Linked DNA regions of Homo sapiens: region 1 is linked to region 2. The links are contacts of gene promoters, found by promoter capture Hi-C in human tissues and cell types (Jung and others, 2019). All regions are on one chromosome and are shown on one strand. Each heading gives the region's core, a stretch centred on a gene start or on the middle of the fragment in contact. The rest is flanking DNA. Distances are from core to core; before and after follow the strand shown.

The links. The method cuts DNA at HindIII sites, captures the fragments that hold promoters and counts their contacts. A contact is called where the count stands out against the background at its distance.
Region 1: a fragment that was not itself captured here is called in contact with the fragment with the promoter of TSR3 in region 2 in 1 of the 25 tissues and cell types used here (lymphoblastoid cells).

The regions. Positions count from the first base shown.
Region 1 is chr16:1,863,360-1,868,918 of GRCh38, forward strand. MEIOB (meiosis specific with OB-fold) reads right to left here. Exons shown (of 14, transcript NM_001163560.3): 2 at 4,748-4,825; 3 at 2,419-2,476. The coding sequence starts at 4,816. Among named protein-coding and RNA genes, the nearest start is that of MEIOB, 6.0 kb to the right of the region's middle. The HindIII fragment of the contact is 4,524 bases long and covers 112-4,635 here.
Region 2 is chr16:1,350,572-1,354,901 of GRCh38, forward strand. TSR3 (TSR3 ribosome maturation factor) reads right to left here and starts at 1,307. Exons shown (of 6, transcript NM_001001410.3): 1 at 1,122-1,307; 2 at 808-1,027; 3 at 236-429. The coding sequence starts at 1,233. It overlaps GNPTG (N-acetylglucosamine-1-phosphate transferase subunit gamma), which reads left to right and starts at 1,360. Exons shown (of 11, transcript NM_032520.5): 1 at 1,360-1,446; 2 at 1,531-1,588; 3 at 1,668-1,735. The coding sequence starts at 1,395. RefSeq lists a silencer at 885-1,584. The HindIII fragment of the contact is 21,021 bases long and covers 1-4,330 here.

The DNA.
Region 1 (5,559 bases), core at 1,124-3,623, 510 kb after region 2:
TGTTTTTTTTTTAGTAAAAACGGGTTTCGTTTTTGTTTGTTTTTGAGACGGAGTTTCGCTCTTGTTACCCAGGCTGGAGTGCAATGGCGCGATCTCAGCTCACAGCAACCTCTGCCTCCTGGGTTCAAGCAATTCTCCTGCCTCACCCTCCCAAGTAGCTGGGACTACAGGCGCCTGCCACCATGCCTGGCTAATTTTGTACTTTTAGTAGAGACGGGGTTTCACCATGTTGGCCATGCTGGTCTCGAACTCCTGACCTCGTGATCTGCCTGCCTCAGCCTCCCAAAGTGCTGGCATGAGCCACCGTGCCTGATGAGACAAGGTTTTTTAGTAGAGGTGGGGAAGAACAGAGTGAGACCCTGTCTCAAAAAAAAAAAAAATAAATTTTAAAAATAATTAAAATAAGTTATTTCAAAACAAATTATGTGCTACTTAATGAGGACCACTAGGGGTCAGCAAATACTTTTTTTCCAAAATAGAAATTTCATATTGGTTTTGCTAATTAAAAATTACAACCTGGCTGGGCGCAGTTGCTCCTGCCTATAATCCCGGCACCTTGGGAGGCCAAGGGGGTAAGATTGCTTCAGCCAAGGAGTTCGAGACTGGGCAACAAAGTGAGACCCTCTGTCTCTACAAAAACTCCAAAAATTATTCAGGCATAGTAGCATGGACCTGTCTGGGCTACATGCGAGGCTGAGGCAGGAAGACCACTTGAGCCCAGGGTTGAGGCTGCAGTGAGCTGTATTCACATTGCTGCACTCCAGGCTGAGTGACAGAGCAAGACCCTATCTCAAATTTTTAAAAAAAGTAATATAACTCAACATACATGTAAATTATAGACATATTCTGAACTGTCTATTAGTGTTTACCTCTGGGGAGAGGACTAGGATGGCAAGAGTGAGGAGCTGAAAGGGGAATTTCACTTTTCAAATCTGTGACCTTTGGTACTGCTGGAATTTTTGATACAAATATAATGTTATATGTACAATGTTTTAAGTCAGTAAGCATACTTCTTCCAAAAAAGGAATACCACAGATGTCATCATAAAAAGAAGTCAAACAACACAGAAGTTTTTCTCCTTCCCTCACAGTCTGATAGGTGAAAAACTGTGAATTTCTTTTTCTTTTCTTTTTTTTTTTTTTTTTTGAGACAGAGTTTCACTCTTGCTGCCCAGGCTGGAGTGCAATGGCGTGATCTTGGCTCACTGCAACCTGCGCCTCCCAGGTTCAAGCGATTCTCCTGCCTCAGCCTCCCGAGTAGCTGGGAATACAAGCGCCTGCCACCATGCCTGACTAATTTTGTATTTTTAGTAGAGAGGGGGTTTCTACATGTTGGTTAGGCTGGTCCCAAACTCCTGACCTCAGGTGATCCGCCCACCTCAGCCTCCCAAACTGCTGGGATTACAGGCGTGACCACTGTGCCTGGCAAAAAACCGTGTATTTCATTTTTATAATTTTAGCAAGTATTTTAATAACTACTTTTTTCTAATTCACACATTTTAAGTGATGCCTTCTGAAATTTGGTAAAAGGAGATATAGACTTCCTCAAACTATTTATTTAGTATTTCTGATCTAATTAGTTAAGATGAAATAAAGTGCAGGCACAAATGATATGGGTACCAGATGACAGCTTGGTTATTTACCTTAAAGATAAAAGCATCATGCCTGTAATCTGATCACTCTAGGAGGATGAGGTGGGATGATCACTTGAGCCCAGGAGTTTGAGACCAGCCTGGGCAACAGAGCAAGACTCTGTCTCTACAAATTTTTGTTTTTTTTAAATCAACCAGGGGCTGGGCATGGTGGCTCACACCTGTAATTCCAGCACTTTGGGAGGCCGAGGCAGGGAGATCACTTGAGGTCAGGAGTTCAAGACCAGCCTGGCCAAAATGGTGAAACCCCATCTCTACTAAAAATACAAAAATTAGCTGGGCATGATGGCATGTGCCTGTAATTCCAGCTACTCGGGAGGTTGAAGCAGGAGAATCGATTGAACCCAGGAGGCAGAGGTTGCAGTGAGTCGAGATCGTGCCATTGCACTCCAGCCTGAGTGACAGAGCGAGCCTCCATCTCAAAAAAAAAAAGAGAGAACACATGTACTCAAATATACATATATACACACACGTGTACACACATACACACACATACACATGCACACACATACACACGTGTGTGTATACACATAAACATATATACACATATGTGTGTATGTATACATATATATAGAGAGAGAGAGAGAATGTGGGAGGGAGGGAGAGAGAAAGCCTTGAATCAGGTACTTGACCATCCAATAGAGAGCATGACCATTGCTCTTAAGGAGTTAAACAGGCATAGAAAAATTAATCACTTCAATATACTTTGTTGTAGTCATAAGCCAAAGTTGATGAAAAATGAAACCAAGAGTTAAACAGAACTCAGCTTTTTCTGTCTGGAAAGCCTTTGACATCTGTTTTCCCAATAACTATACCGATAACTTTCTGAAAAACAAAAAGGTCACAGAAGACCAATATTAAACACAGATGTACTTGATAAATTTAATTTCATGGGCTTGTTATACTTTACTGGCTCTAACAAACATTTCTGACTAGGAACCATTTAAATGTATTTATTCCAGGCAAACATCTAAAAGAAGTTCATAAATGTTCAATTCCACAAGGAATAGTATAAAGTAATCCAAAAGTTAACTACTATTACAAATATAATCATTTAATACTTAGCATATTTCTACTTTATTTTCAATCACCAGATGGAGCATAATAACTGCCCTATGCTATCAATCCTTACTGAATTCATCCAAAGCACATGTATAATGCAATTTAATTTGCCACAGTCTTCAAAGCTTTCCTTTATATAGGGTTTTCTAACAATCCACATAAAATCACTTAGCTTCTTAATCCAAACATGCTGGACAGTAATATAAATTAGACTGTAACAAAACTTATATTTTGCTGCTAATAAATCTAAATTCTAAAGTCCTAGATCTTAAAACTTAGAGATATTAACATCTCCTCAAAATGTTTAATGTTCTCTTTAGTGACTACTGAAGAAAAATTTTAAATGTGTTTTAAGAAATAAAAATGGGCCGGGTGTGTTGGCTCACACGTGTAATCCCAGCACTCTGGGAGGCTGAGGCGGGTGGGTCACCTGAGGTCATGAGTTTGAGACCAGTCTGACCAACATGGTGAAACTCCATCTCTACTAAAAATACAAAAAATTAGCCAGGTGTGGTGGTGGGTGCCTGTAATCCCAGCTACTCGCGAGGCTGAGGCAGGAGAATCGCTTGAACCCAGAGGCACAGGTTGCAGTGAGCTTAGATCCCACTATTGCACTTCAGCCTGGGCAACAGAGCAGGACTCCATCGCAAAAAATAAAAATAAAAAAAAAATAATAAAAAATAAAAATGAATACCTTTTCTGAAAGGAAAAAAACTAAACTTATTTTGCTAATTGCAGCAACTGATTTTAACCTTACAATAATCTTGACATTTAAATTACAATCAGGCTTTTAAGACTCCTACATTCTAGCTGAGCTATTAGCTAGCTTTATTGCTTATTTAGACACATTGATATTATTTCTTCAATTCCTTATACTTGCAGATCTCACTGAATTTTGTTGGAAAATCCAATTAATGGAAATGTTGAGTAAAACTTTCTATCTGAAGAGACCATTATTAGCAAATAGTTTACCTTTCAAGAAAAACTATAACAACAATTGTTATTTTTTAATATTTTAAAATTTTAAATTATTAAAGTTATATGTAAATGTATCCCATTGTAAGAAATCTAGTTTGCAAAAGCAAAATATAAATAGCAGAGTGCTCAGGGGCAGGGAAGGTAAGGGTGTGTGGTAGCTGCTTTACAATAAGTTCTTTAACTTATAAGATGATTCCACTTAGTTTTCTTTTAAGTAAGTAACAGTCGAGATGTGTTCAAAATCATTGAATTCCCCTATAACTCCTACTCAAAGAGTCAATTTTCACATCATCATTGTAGAAAACACACATGTTATAAACCTATATCATAAAAGCAGCATAATGTCAAGTACTTAGACCATAAATTGGATAATTTGGTCAGAAAATTGCTACTGCTGAACAAAATGGTTTAATTTTTTTTTTTTTTTTTTTTTTTTTTTTTTTCAGAAGAGTTTTGCTCTTGTTGCCCAGGCTGGAGTGCAATGGTGCGATCTCGGCTCACTGAGACCGCCTTCTGGCTTCAAGCGATTCTCCTGCCTCAGCCTCCTGAGTACCTGGGATTACAGGCATGAGCCACCACACCCAGCTAATTTTGTATTTTTAGTAGAGATGGGGTTTCTCCATGTTGATCAGGCTGGTCTCAAACTCCCAACCTCAGGTGATCCAGCTGCCTCAGCCTCCCAAAGTGCTGGGATTACAGACATGAGCCACTGTGCCTGGCCTGGTTTAATTTTACAATGCTAAATTTGAGCATTTATTAAATTTTTCACTTTATAAAATATTAAGTAAAATAATACATCTATTGATCATTTTGAACAATTACTAGTCAAATCTACAATCATATCTTCTACTCTACACACAAAGATTAATTTTCATCTAGGTGGCATAAATACAAAGAAATTTAGGTATACTTAATATCTAACAATTATACCAATGCAATGAGTATCTATATACTTGCCAATTATAAAAGCATGTGTTGAATGAATCAATAACATTGATGTAATGTTATCACATAAAATGTCATCAGTAAGCAAATCACCACATTATTGAAACCTACCAGATTAGCCATATTTGTCTGCAGATCTGAAAGGGTAGTGAAAATCCTCGCTGCAAAGGAGTTTGCCATTTTTTTAATCTGCATTTTAGAAAATATAATTTAGATATATAAATTGAATAAATGAAATAAATCATTTAAAAAATTCCAAGAGTTTAAAATCTTATTTAGGGCCGGACATGGTGGCTCATACCTGTAATCCCAGCACTTTGGGAGGCTGAAGTGGATGGATCACCTGAGGTCAGGAGTTCAAGACCAGCCTGGCCATCATGGCGAAACCTCACGTGGTAGCGGGCACCAGTAATCCCAGCTACTCAGGAGGCTGAGGCAGGAAGAAGTGCTTGAACCTGGGAGGCAGAGGTTGCACTGAGCCGAGATCGCACTACTGCACTCCAGCCTGGGCAACAGAGCGAGACTCTGTCTCAAAAATAAATAAAACAAAATAAAATAAAATAAAATAAAATATTATTGGCCAGGTGCGGTGGCTCATGCCTATTATCCCAGCACTTTTGGAGGCCGAGGAGGGCGGATCACAGGGTCAGGAGATCGAGACCATCCCGGCTAACATGCTGAAACCCCGTCTCTACTAAAAATACAAAAAATTAGCTGGGCTTGGTGGCAGGCACCTGTAGGCCCAGCTACTCGGGAGGCTGAGGCAGGAGAATGGCGTGAACCCGGGAGGCGGAGCTTGCAGTGAGCTGAGATGGCACCACTGCACTCCAGCCTGGATGACAGAGCGACACTCCATCTCAAAGAATAAATAAATAAAATAAAATAAAATATTATTTAGGAAAGCACTGGATAGTTTACTGCTT
Region 2 (4,330 bases), core at 57-2,556:
ATGGCACCCCACACACCGGCCCTGATAGAACAGCGATCCCATTCTGCCTCTACTGCAACTCCACAGGCCGAAAACCTGAAGTGACAGTTGGGGCTGGAACCGTGGTCTGTCTGAACTGTTCCCCTGTCCGTCCCTTATGCTCCTCCTGGGGTCTGTCGGCAGGAAACATGATGCTGGGAGCATAGCAGGAACAGCAGGCCGCCGGGTCACACTGCTGTGGGGCCCCTGGACTCACCTACGATGCAGAAGGTGGCAGCAAACGCTTCCACGCAGGAAAGTCTGTAGGGCCGGCCATAGTTCACGGGGTTGGCGGCCACCAGGTAGGGCAACAGGCGCAAGTGGCTCCCTCGCATCTTCCCAAACGGTGTCTCGTCCAGCCTGGCCCAGGAGCAGTCGATGACGGCGACCCCAGACTGCGCCACCAGCTGTCTGCCAGGGACAGCATGGGATAAGTTCAGGAGCCAGCACTACCCAAGGTGGAGCATGCCCCGGAGAATGGCCTAGCTAAGGGATTCAGGGACATCATTCCGCCATCCCCAAACACCCTCAAACGGACTTCACGAGCAAGCTTTTGAGGCAGCTGCTTGGGGCACCTGGAGCATGTGTTTATTCACTCAACAAACGTTTATTACCCCAAAACCTCCTTTATCCCAGGCTCTGCGCTACGCAACGGAGGCAAACTAGACAGACGTTCCCTGCCCACGTGGGTGTGGATGTGGGTGCGACATACAAGTGCCACTAAACCATCCCTGAAGGGAACCACGCGCTGGAAATGAAGACGACCTCGGGCAGGCCTCCCGCGCCTACCTGTCTGCGGGGGACGCGTACTGCTTGCCCACGGGGCTCAGCACCAGACCGCCGAATCTGTGGCCCAGGCGCAGGCAGCGCACCAGCCCCAGGCGGGCCAGCTTGCGGCCCGTGCAGCGCCGGGGGTCGCAGTGGCCCAACTCCCACATGGCCAGCGTGCAGGGCAGCGCCGCCGGGCCCGGGCCGCCCTCGCCGTCAGCCGCCCCTGGCTCCACGGAAGCTGCACGAGAGAGAGAAGGGCACTCGGCCTCAGCGTGGGACCCCCGGGCAGGCCCTCAAACCCTGACCCGCTCTCCCCATCACGCCTCGCTCACCCTGCAGCGCGGCGCCGACCTCCTCGGCGAAGGCCTCCAGGGAGCGCGTCGGGAGGTGCCGAGGGCGGCCGCCTTCCGCCCCCGGCCCGCGCGCTGCCCTCCTGCGGCCCATGGCGCGGACCTGGGGTGCCGGGGACTCCCCACCCCACGGCCGCGCCCCTCGGCCTCCCAATGGGCTGTGCGGCTGCCAGCGCTTGCGCCGGACGCCACTTCCGGTCCCCGTGGTCACGTGACCGTCACTTCACGTGACCGCGCGGCGGCCGCTGCGGCGCGATGGCGGCGGGGCTGGCGCGGCTCCTGTTGCTCCTCGGGCTCTCGGCCGGCGGTGAGTGGCCCGGCCGTCCGCGTCCCCAGGCCCCGCGCGCGCTCTGCACCCCGGCCTCCCCGCTCACGGTCTCGCTCCCCGTAGGGCCCGCGCCGGCAGGTGCAGCGAAGATGAAGGTGGTGGAGGAGCCCAACGCGTTTGGGTGAGCAGCCTCGCGGGCTGGCGGCTCGAGCGGGGGACGGCCCGGGCCCGTTCCCCGCTGACCTTGCCGCTTCCCGTAGGGTGAACAACCCGTTCTTGCCTCAGGCCAGTCGCCTCCAGGCCAAGAGGGATCCTTCACCCGTGTCTGGTGAGTGAGGAGCGCTGTTGGCCGGCGCGGGGGTGGCCGCGGGGAGCAGCAACAGTGGAGGATGGATGAGTGACCCTGAGAGTTACGGCCCGGAGTCTAAAGCATTGGTTTGTCAGCCTTCTAAAATTAATGTGGAAGTACGAGAGAATATACCAGAACGTTCTTGTAGCGAATTAAATTATCTCCAGACTTAGTCCTTCCTTTCCTTTCCGAGAGGTAACTGCTGTTAATAGTCTGGTGACTTTGCAGACGCGTTTCTGTGCTTTTACGTGCGTGTCTATGCAACTGGAAAACGTATAGTTTTTGTAATCTAATCGCTTTTTTAAAAAATCATGCTGCGCGAGTATTTGGCTGATTTGTCGTTGTCACTCGCTGTATCTCTCGGGACGCTTCATGGTGATGATATAGGTCTTCGTTCTTTCTCTTGGTGCTCAGCACGCGATAGGATGGCACTGCACTCCCCGATTGTATTTAGGTTCTTGCCATTTTTTTGGCCATTAGAAATAGTTCTGTGGAGAACATGCTGTGTAGGTGCTTTGGTTTGCCCTCAGGTGAGCGGTTTCCCAGTGCAGGATTCCAGAAGTGGAATTGGTGGGTCATGAGTATATATATCATTTAAACGCTGAATGAGTATTAAATATAATAGACAAAAATCCAAGAATTTTTTTTTTTTTTTTTTTGAGACAAGAGTCTCGCTCTGTCGCCCAGGCTGGAGTGCAGTGGCACGATCTCGGCTCACTGCAACCTCCGCCTCCCAGGTTCAAGCGATCCTCATGCCTCAGCCTCCCGAGTAGCTGGGATCACAGGCATGCATCACCATCACGCCCAGCAAATTTTTGTATTTTTAGTAGAGATAGGGTTTATTTCACCGTATTGACCAGGCGGGTCTCGAACTCCTGACCTCAAGTGATCCGCCCATCTCGGCCTCCAAAAGTGCTGGGATTATAGGCGTGAGCCACCGCGCCCAGCTTTAGTAATTTTATTATCGAATACCTTTATGTGTTAGGGTCTGTGCTGGGGTTGCAGAAACGAACACAGATATACCAATGCTTGTCCTCATGGAGCTGACAGTCTAATGGGGAGGGATGGAGGAACAGGCACTGAGCCTGTAGAATTAGATAAAATACATAGAATGGCCAATGATGAAAAATGCCATGTAGATGTGTGAAGCAGAGGAGGGAGTGTGTGTATGTGTGTTAGAGTATTGTTTGGGGGATCGCTTTTTTTATTTTTTAGAGACGGGGTCTTGCTCTCTCACTCGGGCTGGAGTGCAGTAGTGCAATCATAGCTCACTGCATCCTTGAACTCCTGGGCTGAAGCAATCCACCAACCTCAGCTTCCTGAGTAGCTGGGACTACAGGTGCACGCCACCATGCCCGGCAAATGTTAAGTGTTCTTGTAGAGATGGAAGTCTCACTATGTTGCCCAGGCTGGCCCCAAACTCCCAGCGTCAAGCAATCCTCCTGTCTTGGTGGGGATTGCTTTAAATAGGGTGCTGAGGAAAAGTCTAAGAAGTGACATTTCAGCCAAAAGCTAAAGGAGAAAAGGGAGTAAAGCTGTGGCTATTTGGGGAAAGGGATCCAGGAAAGGGAGTGGCCAAAGGCCTTGAGCAGGACAGCCAGGGCCAGAGGGGATTCAGCTGGGGTAGCCACAGATCAGAGATAAAGGGGATCAGATGGTGCCGCACCGTGTTGGTAGGTTTGGTGGACTTTGACTCCAAACACATCTTTTTAAGTTTTTTGTTGTGTGGCTGGGCGTGATGGCGCACCTGGGGTTAGGCTCACTTCCCTGCGGCTCAGAAGCCATGGGATGGTGGCTTCCCAGGGCCTGAAGTGCTGGAGTCGGGCCACCACCTATCCCAAGAAGCTGGGGAGGAGGCAGGCCACTGTGTAACAGCGCAGTTCCCGACCGAACCCCTTCCAGTAGGAGAGAGGCAGCCTTGGCTAATGGGACCACGTCTTTTTGGAGGTGAGAGTCCTGGAAAGAAAACAGAATATGCTGGTCGTGGTGGTGCGTGCATGTTGCTCGGGAGCCTGAGGTGTGACGATCGCTTGAGGTCAGGAGTTCGAGACCAGCCTGGCCAACATGGTGAAACCCCGTCTCTACTAAAAAAAACCACAAAAACAAAAGTTAGCCGGGCATAGTGGTATCCTCCTGTAATCCCAGCTGCTTGGGAGGCCGAGGCTGGAGAATTGCTTGAATCCAGGAGGCGGAGGCTGCGGTGAGCTGAGATCATGCCCCTGCACTCCAGCCTGGGTGACAGAGCAAGACTTCGTCTCAAAAAAAAAAAAAAAAAAAAAAAACCCATAAAAATTTAGAAAAGAATACCTCTTCTAGTTTTCCCACCCCCATCCCCACATCAGGGCCAGTCAGGTTCACATGTGCATTTGGTTCATTATGTGTCTTTAGTGTTTTAATTTGGAACAGTTCTCTTCCCACCTTTGGATGTAAGTGGCACATTTGTTTCCCAGTTTCCTGATCTTTTTGTTTTGTTGATGGTGTTTTTCTCCAGACCATTTTTTCCTGCGCCTGTGGGGTCAGGCGTGGATAGTCCCCCGCGTCTGTAGGGCTGGGCGTGGATACTCCCCCGCGTCT